Regions from separate parts of the Homo sapiens genome. Here regions 1 and 2 are each linked to region 3. Evidence: promoter capture Hi-C in human tissues and cell types (Jung and others, 2019). All regions are on one chromosome and are shown on one strand. Each heading gives the region's core, a stretch centred on a gene start or on the middle of the fragment in contact. The rest is flanking DNA. Distances are from core to core; before and after follow the strand shown. Region 1 overlaps PLD5 (phospholipase D family member 5). Region 2 overlaps PLD5 (phospholipase D family member 5). Region 3 holds the start of PLD5 (phospholipase D family member 5).

Region 1 (4,634 bases), core at 676-3,175, 81 kb after region 3:
AGAAATTAATTCCTTATAGAGACTGGGAAATCCAAGATCAGGGTTTTAGCAGATTTGGTGTCTGGTGAGGGCCAACTCTCTGCTTAATAGATGATGCCTTCTCGCTGTGTGTTCACACAGTAGAATGAGCTCGATAGCTCTCTGGTGTCTCTTTTATAAGGGCACTAATCTGATTAGTGATGGCGGAGCCTTCAAGACCTCATCACCTTCCACATGCCCTACCTTCTAATACTATCACACTGGGGATTAGGGTTCAACAAATGAGTTTGGGAGGTGGGAGAAACAAATATTCACACCACAGCAGTGCCTTTCACATAGTAGGTTTTATATGGTGTTGAATGAATAAAGGCATAACTTAAGAGAAAAGCTGAGGGTCTATATAGTAGAGCATATAACACATAGCTATATGTGACTTATGTTATCTATTGGACTTTGAGTAACAGGCTATAGGTCTCATCTCTTTAATATATATCACATGTCAATAACTGTATGAGATGAGTCCTATGGCCTGTTCCCAAAGTCCAATGAGGTGTTTAGAAGTGAGTGACAATGTGGTGTGTCCTAGGAGAAATATATATTATATATATAGCCTACTTTATACAAATAATATATATATTATTTTATTATATAATATAATATTTATATAATATAAATATTTATATTATGTATAGTATAATTAAATATTTATATTTTATATAAATATATAATATATATATTATTTGTATAAAGTAGGCTTTTGATTATGTTCCTGAGGAGAAGATGGATCTAGAGGATCAGAGGAGGTTACATGCACCTATATTCCTATGTCCACAGGTTTCAGAAGCTTGAAGGTAATGAGTGAGGACAAATTAGATATAGTTAGAAATTACTAATGGCTACAGTGCCATTTTCTTGATCATTGATAACCTGTAACCACATTGATCAAATGAATAGAAATATGTGGAGGAGAATGAGTGCATACAAAATACCTCCCTCTTCTCCGGTACTTGAAAACTAAAGCACATAGAATAAAGGTATGAGTGATTTTATTAATAGGGTGGATCTAAGATGCTATTTATTGGAAAAAGAAGTATTGTGGTGACAAGTTTTTGGGAAATTGAATGTGTTGGTTGGCTTTGAGTTTCTCCTTGAAGATGGTGTCAAGAGCATTAGAAATTATGAATTACACATACCAACAATATAATGAAGATGAGTAATCTCATTCATTTTGCTGTGGTCTTATAGGAAGGAATTACTCTTGATGGGCTACAGGAAGTGCAAAGCTTAAAATAAGCAAATATGAGTTCTGTTCAAATTTTTATCCTATTGTTGAGCCTCCTGGATACTGATGATTCATGATGGATGCTGCACAGGTCCCATTAGGTGAGAAGACACAGAAGCCACCATACATGGGATGCTAGAGAAAATACCATTGATGTGGTGGCCTATTAAGTCTGATGTTGATGGTAAAATCAATGCAATAAATGGAAGTCCTAGGATAAATAAGCTAATTAGCTGCATTGCCTAGAAATTAAATAGGTTTGAGATGGAGGAAGTCTCTGGAGAGATGCTCATAGGATTACAAAAGAAGTGGTGTGGTTCATGTTGATAGCCTTGACTGCAACTTTAAATGCCCTCCTATAAATGTGGACTCAAGAATAATAGCAAAACTTTCTTAGGTGCTTCAGGTTAAGCTATGATACAGTTTACGTTCACTCTTCCTTCCTTTCCATTTACTTGTTTCAACACTCCTCATTCATTACTTTTTGCCTTTGTACTTCATCTCTAACTTCCCATCTTACTCCTTGGATTTAGCCATCCAAGGAGTAGGTGGATAATCTTCCCAGTTCACATCCTGGACACCTAAGGACTCAGCTCTGGGCATCTGCTTACTGGCTCTATGAAGTGCCCAGACTCCCTAAGACCCACCAACCAGTTCACCTTCCTTGATGTGGCCCTCCCTGTATTACACATAGATATAAGGAGAGCATATCTATTTGGAGAAATTTGTTGTTTGCATTCTGAAATTTGCCATGTTTGGATTTATAGCTTGTGTTGCAAAAGTGCTTGATTAATTTCCTCTTTTATTTTACCACTGTGCTTATTTTGTTTTCAATAGTAAAAACAAAATATAAAATATATTTAATATATAAAAGTGTCTTAAGAGATAGATAAAATACCTGATAGGGAAAAGGGGGGAATCACATCTGTATATACTTAAATCTCACTTTTTAACTAACTTCAGCCTTGTCCATAGGATTTAATATTTCTGATGGACACTTTGGCTGATTTAATAAGTTCATAGAATGTATAGCTTGTTAGCTTACATGTTCTGTCATAGCAAGGGCAGGCTATATTGCAATGTTGCTACACCTAGGACTTCCCCAGTTTTTGTTGATTCGGCATGGAGATTCCTTGCAGAACTGTGTTTACGACTTAAGTTTAAAATCACTGATGGATAAGGAATACCCGTTTATCCAATCTAGGACTTAGAAGAACTGCCTCTCAAATTTGTGTGAAAGTGCATGAACAAATAACGGATTAATTTCTTAAGATACTGAAAATTAAATACTGCATACAAATTGACTTTACTAGTTTAGGATTATAAGTGTTTCCTTTCCCTGCGTCTCTTCTTTGTATGGAGTGTCGATTTACTTAATCGGGTTTTTAAGTTAAAAAACTTTAAGATAACATAAAAACTGAAAAAGTGCACAAATCATAGATGTACAGCTCACATTTTTGCAAAATGAACACAATCTTGTAATTAGCACCCCGCTCAAAGAATAAAACATCACTGGTTCCCCAAGCCATCATGTGGCGTCTCATGATCCTGATTTAGAATTCCTAATCAAGATCTGCTTATTTTTAAGCTTTAAATACCCTTCTTTATTTTTTGTTTTAAAAAAGAAGCGAATAATCCCATTTATGTAACAGTGCCGCCATGGATAAAGTGGACGTAATACCTGGATGCTGCACGTAGATGGAAATCTTGAGGCACATGCTCACCACACTACTAGCAGTGGCGGAATTTGAGAGATGTTTTAGAACTTCTCAGTTGTTTTTATTCTTATTTAAATAGAGTTTTTCATGACAATGAGTATGTGAAGTTTACAAAAAAACATATAAGCATTTTTTAAGGAACTCTGGTACTTTAGAATGTCTTTGGACATGCCTTTGGAATGTCTCATGATGGGCATCGGCCAAGGTATTTTTTAAATCACTGGGCAACCGAGTCCATGCCCTAGACACTTTGTGCCCTTTGTGGGGAAGAGTTCTGTGCTCCCATGAGAGGTGCTCTTAAGTTGTCAGCGAGAGGTGGCAGAGAGAATGCTTCACTCTTTGCTTTATACAGAAGCTTACAGCTGAGCTACTCAATGTACTGGAAACAGCTGCAAATAGCAGAGATAAATTATCAATAGCAAAGATTAAAAATATGTCAGTTAACTTTCTGTTTATCTTTGTAAGGAATAAGTTTAATCAGAAATAACGTAATAGCCTTTCTGGGTCTTCCACATTGAGATATAACTGATGCTTCAACTTTGGCAGAGGATCCATTTTGAAGAGTTGCCAAGTACAATGGTGAGACCTCTTGGGCTCTCGCAGAAGGTGGGCTCGGTGGCTCCCCTGCCTAGGATGGCCCACTGTGTTCCTCGGGAAGAGGGGTGTCTGTCTGACTCCTTTTCCCCAAAGCTTTCTATTACTGTTACTTTAAAATGTGCAAAAGTAATATATATCCTTATGCACTCTAAAGTCAGGAAATATAAATTCTTATTTCATCTTAAGGGAAGATGAAAAAGGGCTGATAACTCTAAATCTGACTTATAACTGAGGAAACTAAGATAAGCTTAGTAAGCCAAATTAATTTTTTTTTAAAGTTTTTTTATGACTACTAAAGAAACACATGGTAATTTCGGAAGATTCATAACATGGTGAAAAGAAAAGTGAAATAATTTAGGGCTAATAACTGTTGGTTTTATATAGAGATATTTATAATCTAGCCTTTTTCATACACACACACAACACCACACACACCTACTAAAAACATACCATACACAGCATTTTTACTAATGGCAGTAGGTTAAATCTTTCATCAATTATATACTCATAGTATCCTGCATTTTGCTTCATAGCACTTACTACTATTTTAAATTATGTTATCATTTATACTAGCATCCTATTATACTCTTGATGGCTAGCACCATGCATGGCACATTACATATTTGTTGAAACAAACAGTGAATATTATACATTCTGCCTAGTCCTGATTTTTTCAACTTAATTTATTATAGCTATTGTTCCATACCAATAAATACAACTCACATAAATGTAACTCATCATTATAATGGACATGGATGCTTTTCCAATTTTCCTTCCAAATTACTATTTATAATAATGCTGAATGGGCATCTTTGTACATGCAAATTTAAGCAATCACCCAATCCAGTTCTCTTTGTATTTCATCCATACAGTGTCAAGGGGGTGAATGACCTGATTTTAGAAGTGTGAAGGAAAGTAATGGACAGAGCAGTAGGAGGAGGCGGAGTGAGGGAGAGGGAGCAATGAGTGGTTTCAGAAAAAACATAGTGTTCTGTGCTCAGCATGTGGATTGTGTTTAGTCTGTGAGTTAAGAAGGCTGGAAGAGGAGGAAGAGAAGT
Region 2 (4,427 bases), core at 1,468-3,967, 110 kb after region 3:
TAACGGAGTTGTTGACCCTGGTAGTAGAGTTTGGGGCTGTAAGAATGAAGTGCTGACTTTGCCTACCAGAAACCATTCCCAGCAGGAGATGGAACATGTTGATTGAGGGCGAGGGCTCTAGAGTTCTAGTACCTAGGTTCTGACCTTCATTCTGGGCTTAGTCATTGTGAGAGCTTGGGCAAGTAACTTAATCTTTTTAAATCTCAGTTTTCTTATGCATATGCTGTATCCACCTCATAAAAGCTTTCTGAGTATTAATAAGATCATGTACATAAACCATTTGGAATGGTGCCTGGCTCATTGTAAGTGCTCCATAGGAGATGGTATTATTTGCAATTGAGATAGAAGTGCTCCTTCTACAGCAAGAATCAGGAGCCCTGGAGGTAACAAGTTTATCGAAGAATTTTGTGAGAGTTCCTGGTATAGTCTTATTTCTGGGTCTCAAGCTCCCTAATCAAATACCTGTTTTTACTGGGACTGACTTTTATCATCAGAACATCCCTTAAAGTAGTTGGAAGCTAGCAGCCTTGGATTAAAAGCTGGCTGATAGAATTCAAGTCTCATACAGTGGTGTGAGTTGTGGCACCAAAGCTGTGTTTGAAACATAAGAATGTGGTTGACTTTTCAATCTATTTTTAAAAGGCTGGTGAACTACTTCATTCTTGGGTAGCCCTAGACCTTTACTTCTCCTTGCTGGCAATAAAATTCAGGATGGCCGGGCATGGTGGCTCACGCCTGTAATCCCAGCACTTCGGGAGGCCGAGGCGGGCAGATCATGAGATCAGGAGTTTGAGACCAATCTGACCAACATAGTGAAACCCTGTTTCTACTAAAAAAAAAAAAAAAAAAAAAATGCAAAAAATTTAGCCGGGTGTAGTGGTGTGCGCCTGTAGTCCCAGCTACTCAGGAGGCTGAGGCAGGAGAATTGTGTGAACCCGGGAGGTGGAGGTTGCCATGAGCTGAGATCGCACCATTGCACTCCAGCCTGGGCAACAGTGCGAGACTCTGTCTCCCCCCGCCAAAAAAAAAAAAAAAAAAACAAAAATCAGGACTGCACTCAGCTTGCACTATAAGATGGCTGTATTCATGGAACAGCTTGAAACTACAAGTCATGCGACGAGTCTTTGCCATGACTTTTGTGTCCTCTGCCACCCACTGAGGGAAGTGTCTGCCTTCCCTGATGGCATGAGAAACGTCACGCAGGCTGTAAGAACACGCCACCCAGGCGCCCATCTCATCTCCACACTGAGCATGAGCCACACCCGCCTGGAGGCGTGAGGGTCTAACCACCCTCTTTGGTTACAGATCATCATTTTTTTTTCCTGCCTGTGTCTTAGGAGGATCACAGGAGGTAGCATTAAAGCTTTTCTAAGCATTATTCATGCTACTTGACCCAATGTCTCTGTGTGAAGTCCCACTTATTTAGAAGAACAAGGAACTGCTCCTAGCTCCAGCCAGGGAACTAAAATATTGGTTCTTAGATAATACGTAGATCACAGTGAATCTTTTTTATTTGGAGATTACTATTCCATTTGGTGCTGGCATTGCCACATGACTCTAGGATGAAGGAAACCTATTCTCTGGACCCTTAGTCAAGAACACGTGTCCATAATTTCAGAAACAGCAGAAGTGTTGCTGGAAGGAGCACACTATGGGGTATGATGTGGTGTGGACATTTAAGAGTATCATGCTCAATTCGGTGATGAAATTGTGTGAATAAATTGAGTGCAAGAAAGCCCACACGTTCTCAGTTGCCACTTCACTTAATCTACCAGCAGCATTTGAACTGATACACTAGGTCAGCCCCTCTTCCCAGAAGCACTTTTTTTTGCGGAGTTTCCAAGACTCCCCATTCTCCTGACTTTGCTGTGGTCTCCTTTGCTGATTTTACCTCGTAGTGCTGATGTCTGACTATTGAAGTGACCTGGGGCACTTCTTTTGATGATCCCACCCAAACACCTCCCTGTAAATACCATGTACACACTGACAACTCCAACATTTATTACCTTTAGCTTAGACCTTGCCCCTGAGCTTCAGACACACATCCAATTGTCTATTCGTTTGATGCTTACTTTGTATGTCCAATGGGCATCTCAAGCCTAACACAACCAGATCAAAACTCCTGACCTTCCCCTCTAAAATTAGGTTCTCCTGCAATAATTCTCTTCTCATTAATGGGAAGTCTATCCTTCCAGTTGCTCAGGCTAAAAACCTTAGGGTTTTTCTTGACTCTGTTTGTCCTCTCAGATTTCAGATCCAAGTCTGTAAATAAATACTATAGGATCTATTTCCAAAATATATTCAGAATCTGGCCATTTTTCACCTCTTCTAATGCAACATCCTAGTTTAAACTACATTATGTTTCTCCCCTGGATTGTGGCAAAAGCTTTCTGGTTCTGCCCTTGTCTTTCCAGGTTATTCTCAACACAGCAGCCTAAGTGTCCTTTAGAGTGATAACTACATGACATCACTCACTCTTAGCTGGTGGTTCTTCCTTTAGCATTTGGTTTTCCATTTCACTTGGGGTAAAGCTTGCAATGGCCTACAAGGTCCTGCAGGAGCCTCTTACTGCCTTGGTGATCCTTCCCTGCCACTCCCTTGCTCTATCCCATATCACCTCCCTCCTTGCTCTATCCCATACCACCATCCCCCGTACTGGCCTCTTTCTTCCACAAAAATGCCAAGAACATTCCCACAGCAGGACCTATTGATGCAGGGAAGCAAGCCCCATAACGGGGGCTTAGCCCTGGAGGGCTCTTGACCTCATCCAGGAAGGAATTCAAGGGCATGCTGGTAATGTTAGAGAGCAACTTTTACTGAAGCACCAGTGAACAGCAACAGCATAGGTACTGCTCCTTGTGGAGCAGGGCTACCCCACACACAGTGTGCTTAGTGTAGCAGCTCAGAGGCAGTTCTGCAGCCATATTTATATCCACTTTTAATTACATGCAAACTAAGGGGAGATTATGCAGAAATTTCTAGAACAAGGGTGGTAATTTCTGGGTTGTGAGATTGTTGCCATGGAAAAGGGTGGTAACTTCAGGGTGTTGCCATGGCAATGGTAAACTGACATGGAACACTGGCGGGTGTTTTATGGAAAGATGCTTCCACCCTATCCCTGTTTTAACTAGTCCTCAATTTGGTCCAGTGTCCAAGCCCTGCCTCTGCAGTTGAGTCTTGCCCCCTGAGTTTAGTCCCACCTCCTACCTCTTTATAGCTTGTTCTTCCGTCTGCCTGGAATCTTCTTCCCCCAGATTAACCCCATAGCTAACTTCCTCACCTGCTTCAGATCATTACTTGCAGGTTTTTACACATGGGCTACCTCTTGGTGAACTTTCCCTGGCCATCCTTTAAAATTATAACTCTTTTGGGCTACACTTACAGCCATCTGAAATATTATATATTTTATAGATTTTTTTTAACTACCCTTTCCATCTTTCACAAGAAGGGTGCAGAAATATTTGTTGTGATCACTGCTGTATAAACATTGTCTGTGTACAACAGGGGCTCCAATAAATGTTTACTGAATGGATGAAAGAATGTATGTGAATGCTGCATTGGCATCAGAGTTGGCACATATTTATGAGGCTGACTTTTTGGCATCAAGAGCAAACTGTTCACCAAGGAAGTTACCAGGGGAATCTATTGAATCAATGCCTTTGTTCACAAATAGGAATTTTTGCTTTCATCCAAAGAAACAAGATTTTATTTGTTTTGGTTTTTAATGAGTTTAATTTAGCTGAAAATGTTTCCAGGGCTGTCGACCAATGGCCAGGAAGTCAAGAAGTTGCTCTTTTTTAGCAGAAGGTGAGGTAACGACTTCAAATAGGGTAATTATATTTATTTTGCCATCCTTTAAATTTCATGTTACTAACTGAATTTGTTGAATTCTTGCAGCTCCAAAACTACTGATTATAGATTCATAAAACTAAGAGATCCTAGGCTTCTTCTGGAAGGGTTATATTTGCATATTCTGTGTCATGTAACATACTGAATCCTTCTCTTAAGACACCTGTAGGAAATTATACTTCCTACACTAGTGGTAATCCTTTCCTTTTCTTTTTTAACATTTGACATAGAAAATTTCAAACATAAAAGTATGTAGAAGAGTATAATACAACCTTCATGAATCCATAATGTAGCTTCCAAATTTATCAATGTATGGCCAACCTAATTTCCTTTATAGCTTTTCTGATTATCTTCTATTTTCTTTTTCCCATACTGAGAATCCTAGTCCTCAACAACAATGAAAATTATATATTTAGAATATTACATAATTTTTTTTTGCTCAACCCCACCAAGACACCTGAACTGATCTTAGAAAACAGTAGCCAATACTGCCACCAACAATACAGTTACTGAAAGTTTAAGAGTTTCAACACATCATTTTAACATCAGTTCTTCTGAGTGTAATAATACAAGTACAT
Region 3 (4,274 bases), core at 267-2,766:
CAGGCTGGTCTGGAACTCCTGGGATCAAGTGATCCTCCTGCCTCCTCCTCCCAAGGGGCTGAGATTACAAACCTGAGCCACTCCGCCTGGCCTTCACAGCTTTTCAATCTGGTTCATATCCTTGTTTTGAAGTGTAATTTCTGCTTCTGCTTCACTTTCCTCACTGGAAAGGAGGGTTAATAACATTTATCTTGCAGGATAACATGAGACTTAGAGATAGCCCACAGGTCGGGGCATCTATTGCACAATATAGTTCAGCTCCTAAGAAAACCAACCTAGCACAACCAAAATGTGTGTATTTGTGTTTAGTTGTTTCATCCCCATATTGAATGTGCACAGGATTTTATTTCAACTACTATTTTTACTATACCATTTTTTTAAATGGAGACTTTGAAAAGATATGAAACACAATCCCTGTCCTCCTAAAAGTTTGTGAAATCCCAGCCAGAATGTCTTTGAAACCGTCATTCAAGTAGGGCAGTTCTGCCGAGGGCTAGAGAGCCTTCAGTTTACCCTTGGCAACACCCTCTAAAATCCCCTGTATACCTCTCCAGCTTCCATACACTTCCCAAGCTTTTAACCAGACACGAGACACCCTGAACACCAGCTGTTTAGCATTTAGATAAAACCAAAAAATGTTTCGAGAGGTTGACTCCAAAGATAGCAAAAGATGAAGAGATTGAAGATTTAATCGCGAACAAGCCACCCTATTCCTAATAATCATCACGCTTGGCTGGGCCCCGAAGGAAAAGCCTGGACCCTAGGGGCCTAGAAACAGAGAAAAGAAACAAATGCACAGCAGTTGGGCCACGTCCACCTAAGGAACAGTCACCGCACAAGCGGAGCGTTGCAGAGGAGCCCTGGATCACCCTCCCAGGATCGGAATGGGTGCGGCCCGGGGAGCCCGGTTCTAGGTGGACACCGAGGGCTGGGGAGCAACCGGTCCCGCGTGCCTGCCCGAGGGGCTACTGCCCCCGGGCGTATTTGCATCGCCACACCATCGGATGAAAGTAGCGTGTACGGCTCCAGAAAACACATGTCTCTCGGCTATTTTCAGGGGGGAATGCTGGGCACCCTCTGCTCTAAGTCCCTTGGGGTGGGAAGTTAGTGAACTTTCAGAATGGGGGAAGGCGCAGCCCAAGCGAGCCGGGGGCAGGGTGAGGGGGCGCCGCTGGATAGAGATGGGGGAAGGGCGGAGGTGGTTTCCTGAGTGTCTCCCTCCGGAGCCATCCCCGCGCTCAGCCAGCAGGACCGAGGAGGCGCGGAGACGGCGCTCACTTCTCCCCTCGCCTGCCGGCTTTCCAGTAAAGATGCGCCAGGGAGAGGTGTAGCCTGCTCGGGAAAGGCGGGTGCGGAGCGGGAGCGCGGCCGCCCGGGCCTGGGCGCGGCGGGAGGGGCGGCGGCGGCTCCTCACTGCACCAACCTGCAGGCGCGGGCTGGCTGGGCCAGCCGCGGCCCCTCCCACCGCACCCCACCCCCGCCGCCGCCGCCGCCCCGGGAGCCGGCCCGGGTCCCAGTAGGTGCCGCAAGGAGCCGGCGAGCGGAGCGCCCGCTCGGGACCGCAGCCGCCGGGCGACGTCGCCGCCGCACCGGGCACTTCTGTCTCCCCGGAGCAGGTTCCTTTCCCTCCCTGTCCCCTCTCGTCCCCCTTCTCCCCGTCCGTCCCCCTCCGCCCCCGCCCCCGCCCCCGCCCGCACCTCGCCCTCCCTCCTTCCGCCCCGCGCCTCCCGCGATCGCCCCCTCCCGCCCGGCCGCGCTCCCAGCTGGCGCTCAGCACCCCGCGCTCCCCGCGCCCGCTCGCTCCTCCAGCTCCTCCAGCTCAGTCTCCAGCTCCACCTCCGGCTCCCGCTGGGCCTCCCGCTCGCCCTCCGCGCCCGGCTCCCCGCGCGCCCGTCCCGAGTCCGCTGCTCGCCGGCGGCCGCCCGGTCATGTCAGGATGGAGATCCGGCAGCACGAGTGGCTCTCGGCCTCCCCCCATGAGGGCTTCGAGCAGATGAGGCTCAAAAGCCGCCCCAAGGAGCCCTCCCCAAGCCTGACCCGAGTGGGCGCGAACTTCTACAGCAGCGTCAAGCAGCAGGACTACAGCGCCAGCGTCTGGCTTCGGAGGAAAGACAAGCTGGAGCACGTAAGGGCGACTCGCTCCCGGGGGCCTCGGCCAGGCACCTGCCGCATGCACCCTCCCCGTGGTGGTGGCATGAGCGCGCGCGGGGCGCGGGGGGCAGGCGAGGGGATCCTGGCAGGCGCCGACGTCCTAGGTCGGATTCGGGGGCTTCTCTGCCTGCAGTTTCTTGCCTTAATGACCGGGCTGCGGGGAGGGGAGGGCAGGTTCCCTTTCAGGCTCTTGGTCCCTGCCGACCCGACCTGCCCACCTGCGTCTCCCGGTAGGGTTCATTTGCACGGGGTTCTGGAGGTGCCTGTGCAGAGTGAGCACGAAGGGGAAGTGCCACCAGCGTGGCTCCGAGCAACCTGGCGTTGCATGGTAGTGGGCTTTAGAGCGGCGTTTGCCCGCGTCTTTGGGGGCTGTTTTACTCAGTCCAAAAACTAGCAAATTAACGAATGAGTAAAGTTGGCGCCGCTAGCGACCAGCGTGGACCCGCGCACAAGCCATTAGAGTTTTTTGCAGAGTGTCCGCTGGGATGAGCAGTTGGTGATCCTCTCTACTTGAGCCCAACTAGGGAGAGATTTGCGCGTTGCAAGGAGAAAGGCTAAAAGCGAGCGGATCGTCGGGCTCCCCAGAAATCCTCCCCTCTGGAGGGTGGGAGCCGGTGAGAGGGGACCTCTACTCCCAAGGAGTGCCGACTTCACGCGAAGTGAATTGGCTCTGGAGTTGAGCTCCTAAGGCTTGCTATTTTGAAAGAAAAAAAAAAAACCTTCTAAAAAGGCGTTTAGTGGATCCACAGTTTCAAATTTGATCCATCAGCATCTTCTTAAACCAAATGTTAAAATTAAACTAAGAGAATTATCTCAAGAGTGCAGCACAACTAGCTAAGGAGAAGATGCTATTTCTCCCTGCAGAGCTGCAGAATCCAAATTGAGTCTGCTAATGGAATGTGGAGGTTTCCTTGTATTTGGGTCAGGACGCCAACAATGATAAAAAAGATAAGACCAAGAACTCCTGGAACTCACGCATTTCCAACTGCTGCACCGACCTGCTTCCCATCTGCCCCCCAAAGCACTCCTCCTGGGCTCTGCAGCACCAACAGGCTTCTTCCCAGGAGGAAACACGCGAAGAAGGGGCATTTCTCTATTATAATAATCTGAAAGGAAGGTCTGTGCCTGCTTTCTGAGGGCCTGATGAAGTCACTGAAAGCTCTAATATGAAGCTTTGAGTTGGATAACAGCACTATTTTATGTGTAGAGAGCCATTTGCTAATGTCAAAGGGATGCCTCATATCCTTAAGACTATGGAAGTCGCTGAAGGTTTCTAGGATGGCAAGTTGTTTGAAAGGCAACGTATCCATTAAACATGCCCTCTCCAGAATTAGTGAAGGGGCTGGTGGTGTTATTAGTTTAAAGGGGGCAAACAGCATCTTTATGCATTACATGCAAAGAGCATGTAATCAACCAATGATGTGGCTGATTTTAGTATCAGGGATAACAGTCTAGCCTTGGGAGGGTGATAGAACGTATCTTCGTTTTAGTTTCACTCTGAATGTATGTTCTTTTGCAGTTTGTGCTTTTAGCTGGTCTATTTCCTTTATTCTCTTACTGAAAATCAGTGGTGCAGCCTTCTATGACTATGTCTTGAGTCATGAGCGGTGCACGCATTATACTTAAATGCTTTCTCACTTTTAGATTTTCATTGAAAGTATCAAGTCATACCATGTGTGCCACAGCAGTCTCACCTTTCTGCATGAGTATGGGATGCTCAGCCTCCTCTGAGGATTGGAGACCAGGGAAAGGAAGATGTGGTTATTTGAAAGCGTGTGAGCATCTATGCTTTCTTCTTCACTCAGATACTCCAAAAGAGAGCATTGCATACATTTTTAAAAAAATCATTCTCCTCATTTGATATTTAAATCAGTGTAGCATTTGTTTTACTTTTTCAACTACATTTAATGAGAGATGCATATATCTATTCTGATGTTTTTCTCTACACACCCTTTCAATTAGAAATGGGGCTTTAAATAAATTTATTGGTGGTATTCTCTTGCTCCTTTGAAACATCACGAACATTTTTAATGAATTAATATTAAAGAAAGTGCTATGAAAAATTAAATTAGTATACAATATAAATTTTTTTTGAATTCAAGAGCTAGTTGTTTATAATATAC

What was found. The method cuts DNA at HindIII sites, captures the fragments that hold promoters and counts their contacts. A contact is called where the count stands out against the background at its distance.
Region 1: a fragment that was not itself captured here is called in contact with the fragment with the promoter of PLD5 in region 3 in 2 of the 25 tissues and cell types used here (hippocampus and small bowel).
Region 2: a fragment that was not itself captured here is called in contact with the fragment with the promoter of PLD5 in region 3 in 2 of the 25 tissues and cell types used here (aorta and bladder).

What each region holds. Positions count from the first base shown.
Region 1 is chr1:242,440,704-242,445,337 of GRCh38, reverse strand. The region is part of intron 1 of PLD5 (phospholipase D family member 5); the gene reads left to right. Among named protein-coding and RNA genes, the nearest start is that of PLD5, 82 kb to the left of the region's middle. The HindIII fragment of the contact is 3,642 bases long and covers 105-3,746 here.
Region 2 is chr1:242,415,999-242,420,425 of GRCh38, reverse strand. All of the region lies in intron 1 of PLD5 (phospholipase D family member 5), which reads left to right. Among named protein-coding and RNA genes, the nearest start is that of PLD5, 110 kb to the left of the region's middle. The HindIII fragment of the contact is 3,828 bases long and covers 804-4,427 here.
Region 3 is chr1:242,521,939-242,526,212 of GRCh38, reverse strand. It overlaps PLD5 (phospholipase D family member 5), which reads left to right and starts at 1,516. Exons shown (of 10, transcript NM_001372062.1): 1 at 1,516-2,125. The coding sequence starts at 1,937. The HindIII fragment of the contact is 9,545 bases long and covers 1-4,274 here.